3 separate regions of the Homo sapiens genome follow, and all the other regions are linked to region 2. The links are contacts of gene promoters, found by promoter capture Hi-C in human tissues and cell types (Jung and others, 2019). All regions are on one chromosome and are shown on one strand. Each heading gives the region's core, a stretch centred on a gene start or on the middle of the fragment in contact. The rest is flanking DNA. Distances are from core to core; before and after follow the strand shown. Region 1 overlaps ATP5MJ (ATP synthase membrane subunit j). Region 2 holds the start of AKT1 (AKT serine/threonine kinase 1). Region 3 holds the start of MTA1 (metastasis associated 1).

Region 1 (3,122 bases), core at 325-2,824, 880 kb before region 2:
AAACTCCTGACCTCAAGTGATCTGCCCACCTTGGCCTCCCAAAGTGCTAGGATTACGGTGTGAGCCACAGGGCCCGGCCTGGGACTCATGCTTTCCACAGCTCTTCCAACTCAACCCATCCCCAGGGCCCCCTCCTCCCACCTTTGGCCATCCTAGCCACTTCTCCTTCCTTACATCACAGAGCTCATCCAGCACCTCTCCCACCCTGATGCCATGCCCTGAACTGCACATGACTCTAATGTCTAAATCGAAAAATTAGTATCTTCTCATCGTCATGTAATGAATGTCGCATTCGAAGCTGAAAAAGAATATGGCCAGGGCATGGTGATTTCCTTGTGAAACTAATGCCAGGCTCAGCACACTCTGATCAGCTGTATCTCCATCTTGAAGTCTATTGCTAAATACAAAACAGATGACATAAGACAACGAGGTCACTTCATAATAACTGCCAATTAAGATAGAACTTATTTAATCAATAAAGGTAGTTACTTAATGAATTACTGAATTTGATTGGGAAAAGCCATTAAATTCCAAACTTACAGTTTGCTTGTATGTGCAGGTCTCAAAATAATGCTTTTTGTTACTTTTACAATTTACTCTCTACTATAGACCGCAAATTAGATGCCCTCATTTTCATTTTAATATGCTTTTTAACATCTGAAGTGGTCCATTAAACTACAGTCAAATAGCTGTCAGGAGTGACTAGATCTAAGCACTTCTCATTTCACTTGGAAACTGCTTTGGTTGGGTGTGGTGGCTCATGCCTGTAATCCCAGCGCTTTGGGAGGCTGATGTGGGAGGGTCACTTGAGTCCAGGAGCTCGAGACTAATTTGGGTAACATAGGGAGACCCCGTCTCTACAAAACATAAAAAATTAACCAGGTGTGGTGGTGCTTGCCTGGCTAATTTTTTATGTTAGTCACAGCTATTGGAAGACTGAGGTGGGAAGACTGCTTGAGCTTGGGTGGTTGAAGATGCAGTAAGCCATGATCACACCACTGCACTGCAGCCTGGGTGACAAAGTGAGACTCTGTCTCAAAAAAGAAAGAAAGAACTGCGCGTTGGCTGCGGCTGTAATGCTGCCTCCACCCCTCCCTCCCTCCACCCACTCACTGCTCCTTTCACATCACTGCTCAGGATCCAAAGAATCCGAATGCTCGGCAGTGTGCTCCCTTTCCCACACTGCGCAGCTGTGTGTGTCAGCTTTACCGCACTGAATCCTTCACAAGCCCAACCTAGTCAAAGGTCAAATGGCGGCCCTCAAATCACTGAAACCCGGATCGTGTGGTCATTTATTCACTTGGCAAATGTGCACTGAGCATGTACTAGGTGCCAGACATTGTTTTAGGAGCTGAGAAACAATAAAGGGTCAGGATATCTGGGAGAGGAATCCTCGGCATTGGCAGAGACTCCGAGGTCAGAATGAACTCGGAGAGCTGGAAGGAATAGGGAGGCCACAGTGCCAGATTCAAATCCTGGCTGTCACTTACTAGCTAACTTAAACCGCTTAAGTTTTCTCATCTGTAAAACAGGGATAAAAACAGGATCCACCTCAAGGGGTTGTTATGGAGAATAACATAGAATAACTCTATGTCAAATGTTGAGTGTCTGGTACTGTATATTAAATGCTTGTTACATAAAATACCATGGCTGGACTATGGGAAGGAAGATGGGCCATGTCATTTAAGGGCCTTGGAGGCTAGCATAGAATTTAGCTTTTATTCTAAAACTGTTCTCTAAATTTAACAACTTTTTTTTTTTTTGCTTTAGGGTTTTTTTGTTTCCCGTTTTGACAATATGAAGAAAATTCAGTTTAGAATCTGGAACTGGCCTGGATGGGATTCGAGGGCAGCTGGTGGGGGCTGCAGAGCCCCTTCGATTCCTCCCCCACCGTGGGAGCTAAGCTACTGGACAGAGGAGCACCAACAGGGCACCGAACCAGGAACTAAGTTAGTGTCTTGAGTCAGGCAAGAATGGGGAGGCCAGGCCGGAGCTACAGCAGGGACTGCCCTGATTGTGGTTAGTTCTGTCTCTAGCCCTTTAACAGCATTTTAAAAGTGCTTTTCGTACTTACTTCCTACACTGCTTCCCACTCCTATAAAGTGGGTACTTGGAGAAAGCTCCTATAAAGCGGGTACTCGGATCCCGCAGCAGGTTAGCAGGACTGCACTCACACCAAATCTGTACGTCATGCTCCTGATGACGAGAACCTACCTCCAACACCTGCTTTCCTGCTCTTCCCTATGAGAGGACTTATTTAGGCAAGGATGGTCGTGAGGGTGGCCTGAGGTCTGACCTTGCAGGATGCGACTGTGTCCTTCTCCTGGAACACCTTGCAGATAGTCCGCCCTCAAATTTCCTGTCCTCAAGCTACTCGAATGCTCTGACAGTGTGAGGTTCCAAGAAACGAACAGCCCTGCTTTGGGAATATGTCACAGATGATCCAAACAAGACCCAGAGGAGGTTTCTGGAAGCCCCAGACTAGGAGTTCAGAGGCATGGAGTGAATCCCTTGTCTCTCAGCAACGACTGGGAAGGAAGCATTCTACAGGACCGATGGGTTTGGAAGCCTGGGAATCCTGGGCTCCAACACCAGCTCTGCCTGGTCAGCTCTCAACTGTGGGCAAGTCCCTTTAGCTGTTGTTTCAGAGGTTTTTTTTTTTCTCTTTTTTGAGACGGAGTCTCGCTCTGTCACCCAGGCTGGAGTGCAGTGGCGGATCTCGGCTCATTGCAAGCTCCGCCTCCCGGGTTCACACCATTCTCCTGCCTCAGCCTCCCGAGTAGCTGGGACTACAGGTGCCCGCCACCACGCCTGGCTAATTTTTTGTATTTTTAGTAGAGACTTGGTTTCACTGTGTTAGTCAGGATGGTCTCGATCTCCTGACCTTGTGTTCTGCCCGCCTCGGCCTCCCAAAGTGCAGGGATTACAGGCGTGGGCCACCAGGCTCAACCCAGAGGTTTCTTTTTCTGTGAAACAGGGATACCTCCACCTGCCCCCAGAGGGCTGTCAATGCAATTCAAAGAGGAAACCAAGGCCGGGAGCGGTAGCTCACGCCTGTAATTCCAGCACTTTGGGGGTCCAAGGCAGGGAGATCAAGAGGTCAGGAGATCAAGACCATCCTG
Region 2 (3,967 bases), core at 1,115-3,614:
CTCCAGCGCAAGCCCAAAAACCTCCTGGGAGAAACCCCAGGCCCCTCCTAAACCACAGCGCCCCTGCCGGTCTGAATCTGGTTCATTCATTTGGCCAACATGTACCGGGCGTCTCAGGTTTTGCCAGGCCCAGTGCTGGGCGCTGGAGACAAAGAGAGGTTCAGACAAGTCCGTCAGTGAGGAGCACCCAGTCCAGGGTGGTTACAGACCCATAATTACAGCAGTCGGGAGGCAGCAAGTAAGTGGGGGAGCACTGGACAGGCCCCCGCCCTGCAGCGGCCCACCAGCCAACCCTCACCTGAGCACACTTTATCCATTGATCCTGCATGGCTTCCTCATTTCCCCTCTGATGGATGAACTCCTAGGCATCCCTCAAAACCCAGTTCCCACATCACCAACTACAGGCATCCCCAGAAAGAGCACTTCGCATGCTCTTCCTGTGAGCAGTCCTCTGCTACCCTTCCAGATGGGCCTTCCTGAGGGGAGGAGGGTCCTCTCTGGGACCTCCAGGCCAGGCAGAGACCCCTGACGACCTCTGTGGAATGGATCCCAACATGGGTCTTTCCACAGCCAGCTTAGACGCTCTCCCCCCAGGCCACCTTTCTGGCCTCCCGAGGCAAGGGCTGGACACCCACAAAGGGTTGCTTTGCACTGATTGTCTTAAGCTACACTTAGAATGGCAGGAAGGCCCACTGCCTTGTGTCTAATGCCAGGACAGGGAAGACCACACCTTACCCAAAGAGGGAAATGCCCCAAGTACTTAGCAGGATGGAAAGCAGGCCAGACTCGAGGAAGGCACCGCAGGACTCCGAGGGCAGGGCTCCGAGCCGCGCACGCCTCAGGCACAGGGGGCTCTGACGACACTGAGTGGGCGTGGCCTGGAGGCAGAGGGCTGGACTCAAAGACCTCTGGATGTCCCCCCACCCCCACACGGGCCTGAGCCCCTCCAAGGCCTGCTGCTGACAGAGTCAGACAGCTGTCCAGAGCCATGTGTAAAAATACATCTGTGCTCACACAGGGTGGTGTACGTCTGCACAGAAACGTATACACCAGGCCAGCACAGGGCTGCCTGTGGGGGCGGAGGGACCCCGACTTCCCACAGCCTCCGTACCTGCCGCCTGCCTTTACCATAAGCACATATTCTTGCTACTATTATTAAGTCACAACTTAAAAAAAAATACTCTGTTTTCGAAAGGGCTCCTCCATCTGCCTCCAGAACCCTGGTGTATGAGAAGTCTACACAGCTCCCGGGAGAGGCAACCGGACCCCCACCAACGGACTCCGTCCGCCCTTCGCTCGGATGAGGGACTCAAAGCAGTCAAGAAGTGGCCACCTGGAGCAAGGCCGAGAGACCCAGGAGTGAATGTGGGGCGGCCTCTGGCTGCAGAGCAGGGGCCCAAGCTCACCCGCTGACCAAGGCAGCACTCAGAGGCCGTCCCGACAGGACCAAGCTCGCTAGCGCCCCAGGATACTCAATCTAAGGGGCAAGCCCCAGCTGCCCTCCAAGCCTTGGCCTCTGGGATGGGCGGGCAGGACCTCCAGGGCCCACCCAAGACAGGAAGCAGTTCCGGGGCCCAGGAGGGTCACAGTCCTTTGTGGCTAGCCTGGGTACCCCGCCACCACGTACAACTTTTCGTCCGTGGGAAACGAAGTCTCCTTCCGGGGCCCTCCCACAAACTTGAAGGCCGGCCGCGGCGAGTCTTTCTCCAACCCCGGGGCACCTCCGCCGGCTGCCTCGCTGGCCCAGCGCCCGGGGAGCCCCACGGCCCGCAGGGGCACCCCGAGCCCCAGCTCCAGGCCCGGCGGCGTCCCTTCTCTCGGGTCCCGGCCTCGCCCGGCGGAGCGGCCTCCCCAAGGTCATGAGGGAGGCTGGGGCCGGCAGCCTGCACCCCCGGCGCCCGGCGTGGGGCCGCCCTCCCTTGGCCGGGCCCGCGCGCCCCGCGCCCTCCCCGCCCAGGCCCGCTCGGCCACTTCCTGCTCCCGCTCCTCCATTCTGGCGGCGCCGCGGCTCGCGCCCCGGCCCGACCGGCCGCGAACAAAGCGGCCCGGCCCGCGGGGAGGAAATCCAGGCCCGGGCGGCCACGGCGGGCGGGGACTCACCGGGCCGCCGCGTCCGGGCGCGAGCGCGGGCCTAGCCGGGCCGCGGCCTCCGGCGCCCGCCGCTCCGCATCCCCGCGGGCCGGCGCTGGGCGGGGCCGGGCTGGAGGCCGCGGCGGGCGGGGGCGCTGCTCGGGGCCGGGCCTCGCGTGCCGCCGCCGCTCGGTGCCCGGTGCCCAGCGCTCGGTGCTCGGCCGCCTGCTCCCGTCTTCGGGCCGCGCTGCGTGCGCTGGGCCAGCCGCCTGCCGCGCTCGGTCCTGCCGCCGCCGCCGGCCCGCCCTCTCCCCGCCCCGCGCCCGCCCCGCGCCCGGAGCCGCCCGCCCACATCCGCCTCCGCCGCCCGGGGCGTCCCCACCGCGCGGCCGGCGGCGAGGGCGGAGCGCGCTCGGGGAGCGCGCGGCCGGGCTGAGGGGCAGCTCCCGACGACCTGGGGCCTGGGCTGGGCCGCTAACGGAGCCCGGCCACCAGCCAGCCCGTCCCGGGGCCACGCCCTCTCTGGCCTCAGTTTCCCCGTCTGTAAAGTGACCCGGCGCTTCTGGGCTCGCTCTGCCGTGACCCTAGCAGAAGGGGCCCGAGACAGGTCAGGGACGAATCCCGGACTTCTGCCTCCGCGCGCGGGGCGGGGGTGGCTTAGGTTGACTTTCAGGCTGCCCCACTCTGGGGGGCGTGGAGGGGGCGGCCAAGAGTGACCTAAAAGGCCCAATCCCAAGACCTTGTGCCTCTGGGGGAAGTGCGGGAGGATGCCAGGACAGGAGGTCAGTTGGAGGTGGGCCTCCAAGGAGCAGGAAGGCTCCGAGGGGAGTCAACCATTCACCTAGGTACTGGCAGCTACACTCACAAAAGGGGGACTTTGCTGGGGAGTGGGAGAAGAGGGGCACACCTTGCCTGGCTCCCACCTTGAGCTGGGAGCAGACACCAGACAGAGGAGGAGCGGTGTCTAGGGTGGGCTGTGACAGCTGACAGCCCAGAGCCCTCCCTGCTGGGTGGACTTGGTCAGCCCGGACACCCAGTCCGAAGTCCACTGGGAGGCAGATGGCCCGGGTATGGAATGAGTAAGTGGGACACAGACCCCTTTCTCCTGGACACTCACAGGAGAGTGCAGGTGACTGCCACCCCGACCCCTTCCTAGCCAGAAGTTCCTCCGACAACTGCCCCTCCCCCATTCCAGAGGCCCACAGTTGATAATAACCCTTTTGTGAAAGACAGACTCTTGTGAGTTACCTTCCTGAGGCTGCTAAGTATTGGGGTTGGGGGAGCATTTTTATTTTCAGCCAGAGTGAGTTCAGCTGGCAGCAGGGGAGGGGGTGGGAGGAGATGCAGACAGAGGCAGCAGGTTCGGCCCAGTGCTCAGGACAGAGTCTGCAGCCAAAACTCGGGCTTCATCCCTGCCTCTTGGGGCTGACCAAGAGAAGGACTCTCTCCCCCTGCATGAGGGCACTCGCTCCTCAGACAGGGGACTCCCCATTCCTGCCTCTCGCCTGAGCACCTCTGCTCCCTCCCAGCTCAGACTTTGTAACCCCAGGAAGGGCCCACCTCCAGGGGGCCAAGTCAGAGGCCCAGTGGTCTGCGCCGCTTGGGTGGGATACCTGACACAAGGGTTGCCCCCAGAGCCTGGGCGTCTGGTGTCTGTCTCTCACCCAGCAAACCTGCACCATGAGCCACCTGGGGCTCCCTCTGGGACTGTCCCACCTGCCCACTGCTCCCCGAGGAAGAGTTCCTGGTATCTGTCCACCATCCTGGGCTCTGCCATGCAAGGATGGAGGAAGGAATTCAGGGAGGAAGCAGAGGGTAAGAGGGCCATGAGACAAGGCCAGCAAGTGGCCGAGGCTTGGGGATGTGGGAGGGAGCAGGGCACCCTCTCATGGAAGAG
Region 3 (4,179 bases), core at 371-2,870, 620 kb after region 2:
CCCCATGCTTCCTAGCTGCCTGGCACTTTCTGGTGTTTCTGGCTAACTTTCTGGCCATGCCAGGAGTTGGTGGAAGGAGATCTCAGGCTGCAGCTTTGCTTTCCTGCTGAGGAGACAGAGGTAGGCTGGGGCTGTAGGACAGGGGAGGCCAGCAGCCCCACCTTCCTTCTGGAGAGACGCTGCCTGTCTGTCATTGCCCCTCTCCTGCACCTGGCCGCTGGCTGGCTGCTCTTCCCTCCCAATCACCAGCAAGCCAGCTCCTGTTCCCTGCAGCCCAGCCCGCAGGATGTGTCCTGGGACCCATAGCCCTCTCTCCCCAGAGACAGCACCGCCCTGCAGCTCGGGTTCCTGGCCCTGTGCTAACCCTGGTGGGGCTTTCCTTACTGGTCTGCTCTGCAGCCATGACATTGTGGCCACCGCTCTCCTTGGGACCCCCACCTGGCTTTCCTCCCAGCACATGCTGTTTCCTACCCACCTGGATGGTGTCCTGTGTGCTGGATTCCCCATGCTGTGTCCCCAGCATCCTGACCATGTCTGTCCCGCCTGCCTAGATCTTGCACCGTGGCCACGGGGCTCCCTCCTGATAGCCCTGAACGCTCCGCTCCATGTCCTACAGAGAGGGATGTCCCAAGTAGATGTCAGCTCCCTCCAGCATCTGAGCAGGCAGGACAGAGACCCACGGTGCTGCTCACATCAGCAGCCTGGAACCCCGAGACAGCTCCTTTTGCTCACCTCCCCCAACACTGATGTTGCACCTGTCTCCAAGCCACTCTGGGACCATCTGTTTCTCTCCATCTGGGAAGCCCCCTTCGCACCTCATGCTCTTCCTGGCTGGGGCGTCTGGGTCACTCACTGGACTCTCCTCTCCTTAGACCTGTGCACAAGCACACACGGGAAGGCATCCTGACAGGTGGTGGGAAGAGAAGGCAGCTGCCTCACTGCGGAAAGAGCACGGCCGCTCCTGGACTCCAGCCCTGTTGGGGCTGGCGGGGTCAGCAGGCGCTGGGTTCCAGCCTCAGGTGGGGTCTTTGGAGGTGGCCTCTGGGCACAGGCACCTCCTCTGCGGCCTTCTCACCAGGTCACGGTTCAGGGAGGCTTTGCCGGCTACGGAGCCTGCCCACACCAAGGCGCGCACGACCACCTGTCCAGAGATGCCACGCGGGCTGGGCGGCGAAGGCCAAGGACACGCCCTGCCTGGTGTCGGGGGCAAAGGTTAGGCCTGGAAGGGAGGTGTGGGGTGGGGACCCCGAGGCCAGGGCTGGGCCGCTGAGCTTCAGGGCCCTTGGGGGGCTCAGGGAGGAATGCCGGAGGACCCCAGCATCAGGAGGAACCCCTGGAGAGCTACGGCAGGACTCACCTGTGGGGCACAGGGAGGGATCACCAGGGAAATGGCCCTTGTGGAGGATCTCCCCTCTACCCCCAGGGCACCAGGGGAGGATCTACCAGGGGGTTCTGGTGGAAGGGCCCACCCGGGAAGCGGCGCGCGGGGAGGACTCGGGGGCGCCGAGAGGAACTGTCCGGGAAGGGGCGCGCGGGCCGCGGGCGGCGCGGGGTCGGTAACGGCCCGTGCGGTGGGCGGCGGCGCCCGAGGCCCCTCCCCGCCGCCCGCGGCCGCTCCTCCTCTTCCTCTCCCGCCCGCGCCGCGGCCCTCCCGTCCCTGCGCGGCCTCGGCGGCCTCGGCGGCGGCGGCGGCGGCGGCGGCGGCAGCAGCGCGGCCCCTTTAAACGCCTGCGGCGCCCCCCGCCCCCGCCATCGCGCCTCCATTTTCCCGGCCGCCCGCGCCGAGCGCCGCGCCCGCCCCGGGCCCCTCCGCCGCCGCCGGCCCGGACATGGCCGCCAACATGTACAGGGTCGGAGGTAAGGCCGCACCGCCTTTATGCCCGGCCCCGACCCGCCCGCAGCCCCCACCCGCCGCCGCTGCCGCCTCCCCCGCCCCTCTGCCCCGCAGGCCCCGCGCCCCCCGCCCGCCCTCGCGGCCCCCGGCTCCTTCCCGAACCGCCCCCCGCCGTGCTCACCCCAACCCAAAATGGCCCCGCGGGTCGGCCCCATCGGGGGCGGGCGGGGCTCGGCGGCCCGGGGGTGGGGGGCGGCCCACCTGTTGGGGCCGAGGGGGCGGCCGCGGGGGTGGCGGGGGGGCGCGGGGCCTGCGGGACATCCGGGGGTCCGGGGCCGGGAGCCCCCAGCGGGAGCACGTGGCCTTGGGAGGCGCCGGCTGCCGGTCTGGGAGCAGGAGTTTTGGGGCTGTGGGGTCTCCCCCGGCCCGCGGCCCTGTGCTGGGACTCCGGTGCATCCCCTCTGGGGATGGGGAGCCCCGGTGAGGGGCCACGTTCCTCCCTAGAGCCCTCCTGCAGCCTGGCCCCGGGGCTTCCCCCAGCAGGGATCCCTCAGGGGGTCTTCAGCAGGGAGCGAGCATCCCGAGCACGCCTCTAAGTCCCCCCAAACTTTTCCCTGCCTCTCGCTCACCTCAGCCCATTCGGGAGGCGCTTTGCAAGGGTTGGGGAGAGGCCGGAGGGCCTCCTGGGCAGGGGCTTCCTCCGTGGGCCCAGCCTCCTGTTGCTCGGGCCCCCCGGGCCTGCAGCTTTGAGCCTTGCCCTCCTTCGTGTGCCTGGGACTCCGTGGGGTCTTTCACAGGAAGGTGGGGGGTCGTGTGCATTCCATCATTCCATCAGCGCCTCCCTCCCCAGGACTCTGAGACCCCTCCCTGCCTGTGACCCTCTCGGGCAGGTGCTCATTACCTTTCCCACCTGCAGCCTGCGCTGCTGGAGGGAGCTGGGGTCACTCCCGCTCTGGCTTGATCCCCATGCCCCTGACCCCGAGTGCCCAGAACACTCTGTGTCTCTCGAGCGTGGCTTCTGCTGCCTTGGACGCCGTGTGGTCTGGCCGGCCAGTCCTGTGACCTTGGGGACGGTGGGAGCCCCCTACATCCCGTCTGTGAGATGGGCGGTCAGTCCGCATCAGCAGCTCTGGGCCTCCCCTGTCCTCTCAGAGGGGCGGTGGGCCTGTACCCCATCCAGCGGCAGCCCCTCCCACAGCCTCATACAGCTTTGCCAGGTCCCTGTGTGGACCCAGGTGCGCTGAGCCCACCCCACGCTCAGGGAGCAGCCTGGGTGCGGGGTCCCTCGAGGGAGGGGCCTGTTCCTTCCTGTTCTTTCTCCCCACCTGGAGACCCCCCTTCCAGCCTGACATGAGGGCCCAGTTTCTCACCCTGGCAGAGAGGATGCCTGCTGCCTGGGCTCCAGCCGGGCCCACTGCGCATGGTTTTGGGATTGGTCCCAAGAAGAGCTCTCCCTGCCCCCACCCATGTTGGGGGTGGGGAGTGGTGGCAGCTTTGGGCTCTAGGGCTGGGGACACCCCGACCCCAACTCATGCCTTCCTAGTGGCTGCATTGCTCGGCCTTCAGGCCTGCCTGCCTGTGATCTTGGCGCCAGCCTGGCTGCCCCCCCTCCAACCTTCCCATGCCTCGGTTTCCCCATGGTGTGGGTGAGGACCTCGTCTCTCAGCCGTCCTTTTGTGCCCTGTGGCAGCTGTGCTGTGGCTGATGAAAGCCAGGACCCTGCCTTGTCCCATCCCGGAGGTGCAGCTCCCCTGGGCCCCACACAGGCTTGGGAGGAGCCCTTCGTGGGGCTGCGCCGCCCTCCCCGAACCCTCTGTCCCCCTGTGCCCGCAGGCCCGTCCCAGGGCCTCACTGACCCACGCACTCCAGTGCTGTGAGGGTGGGTGGCCTGGACTCCTAGGCTGTGGCGGAGGGGCCCCACCATGCCTGGCAGAGATGCTGCTGGTCTCTTTTCCTGTGATGAGGAGCATGGGAGGTTGGGTGCTGTCTGCTGGCAGCACAGCCACGCGTGGGATCCAGACTGCTTCTGCGTGTGCAGTCCGTGGTCACTGTGGCCGGGTGTGCTCGGAGCTGTCAGGCCCCCCACGTGCCCGCCCCGAGGACTTCCTCTCCCTGCAGGTGAGACTGTAGGCCTCCCCCTCTCTACTCTGACTGTCCCTATAGGAGAAGCGGCATTTATCCCTGGCTTCTGGACCGGAACCCTGGGTTCCGGCAGGACCCCGGCAGAGCCCTGTGGTCGCAGTGGGCTGGGCATTGCAGGTTGGCTTCCTGTCTTGGTGCTCGCTCGGGGAGGTGGGCGTCTGGATTCTTGAGCCCCCAGACAAGAAAGAGGAAGGTGTGCAGTG

What was found. The method cuts DNA at HindIII sites, captures the fragments that hold promoters and counts their contacts. A contact is called where the count stands out against the background at its distance.
Region 1: a fragment that was not itself captured here is called in contact with the fragment with the promoter of AKT1 in region 2 in 1 of the 25 tissues and cell types used here (dorsolateral prefrontal cortex).
Region 3: the fragment with the promoter of MTA1 here is called in contact with the fragment with the promoter of AKT1 in region 2 in 1 of the 25 tissues and cell types used here (spleen).

What each region holds. Positions count from the first base shown.
Region 1 is chr14:103,915,709-103,918,830 of GRCh38, forward strand. The region is part of intron 1 of ATP5MJ (ATP synthase membrane subunit j); the gene reads right to left. Among named protein-coding and RNA genes, the nearest start is that of ATP5MJ, 4.3 kb to the right of the region's middle. The HindIII fragment of the contact is 7,772 bases long and covers 1-3,122 here.
Region 2 is chr14:104,793,384-104,797,350 of GRCh38, forward strand. It overlaps AKT1 (AKT serine/threonine kinase 1), which reads right to left and starts at 2,365. Exons shown (of 15, transcript NM_001382430.1): 1 at 2,101-2,365. RefSeq lists enhancers at 1-190, 191-830, 831-1,472, 3,514-3,967 and silencers at 1,737-2,056, 2,087-2,136, 2,317-2,676. The HindIII fragment of the contact is 31,557 bases long and covers 1-3,967 here.
Region 3 is chr14:105,418,207-105,422,385 of GRCh38, forward strand. It overlaps MTA1 (metastasis associated 1), which reads left to right and starts at 1,621. Exons shown (of 21, transcript NM_004689.4): 1 at 1,621-1,857. The coding sequence starts at 1,830. It overlaps MTA1-DT (MTA1 divergent transcript), which reads right to left and starts at 1,533. Exons shown (of 2, transcript NR_125385.1): 1 at 816-1,533; 2 at 1-103. RefSeq lists enhancers at 1-487, 3,166-3,833, 3,834-4,179 and silencers at 1,185-1,284, 1,315-1,364, 1,455-1,714. The HindIII fragment of the contact is 32,458 bases long and covers 1-4,179 here.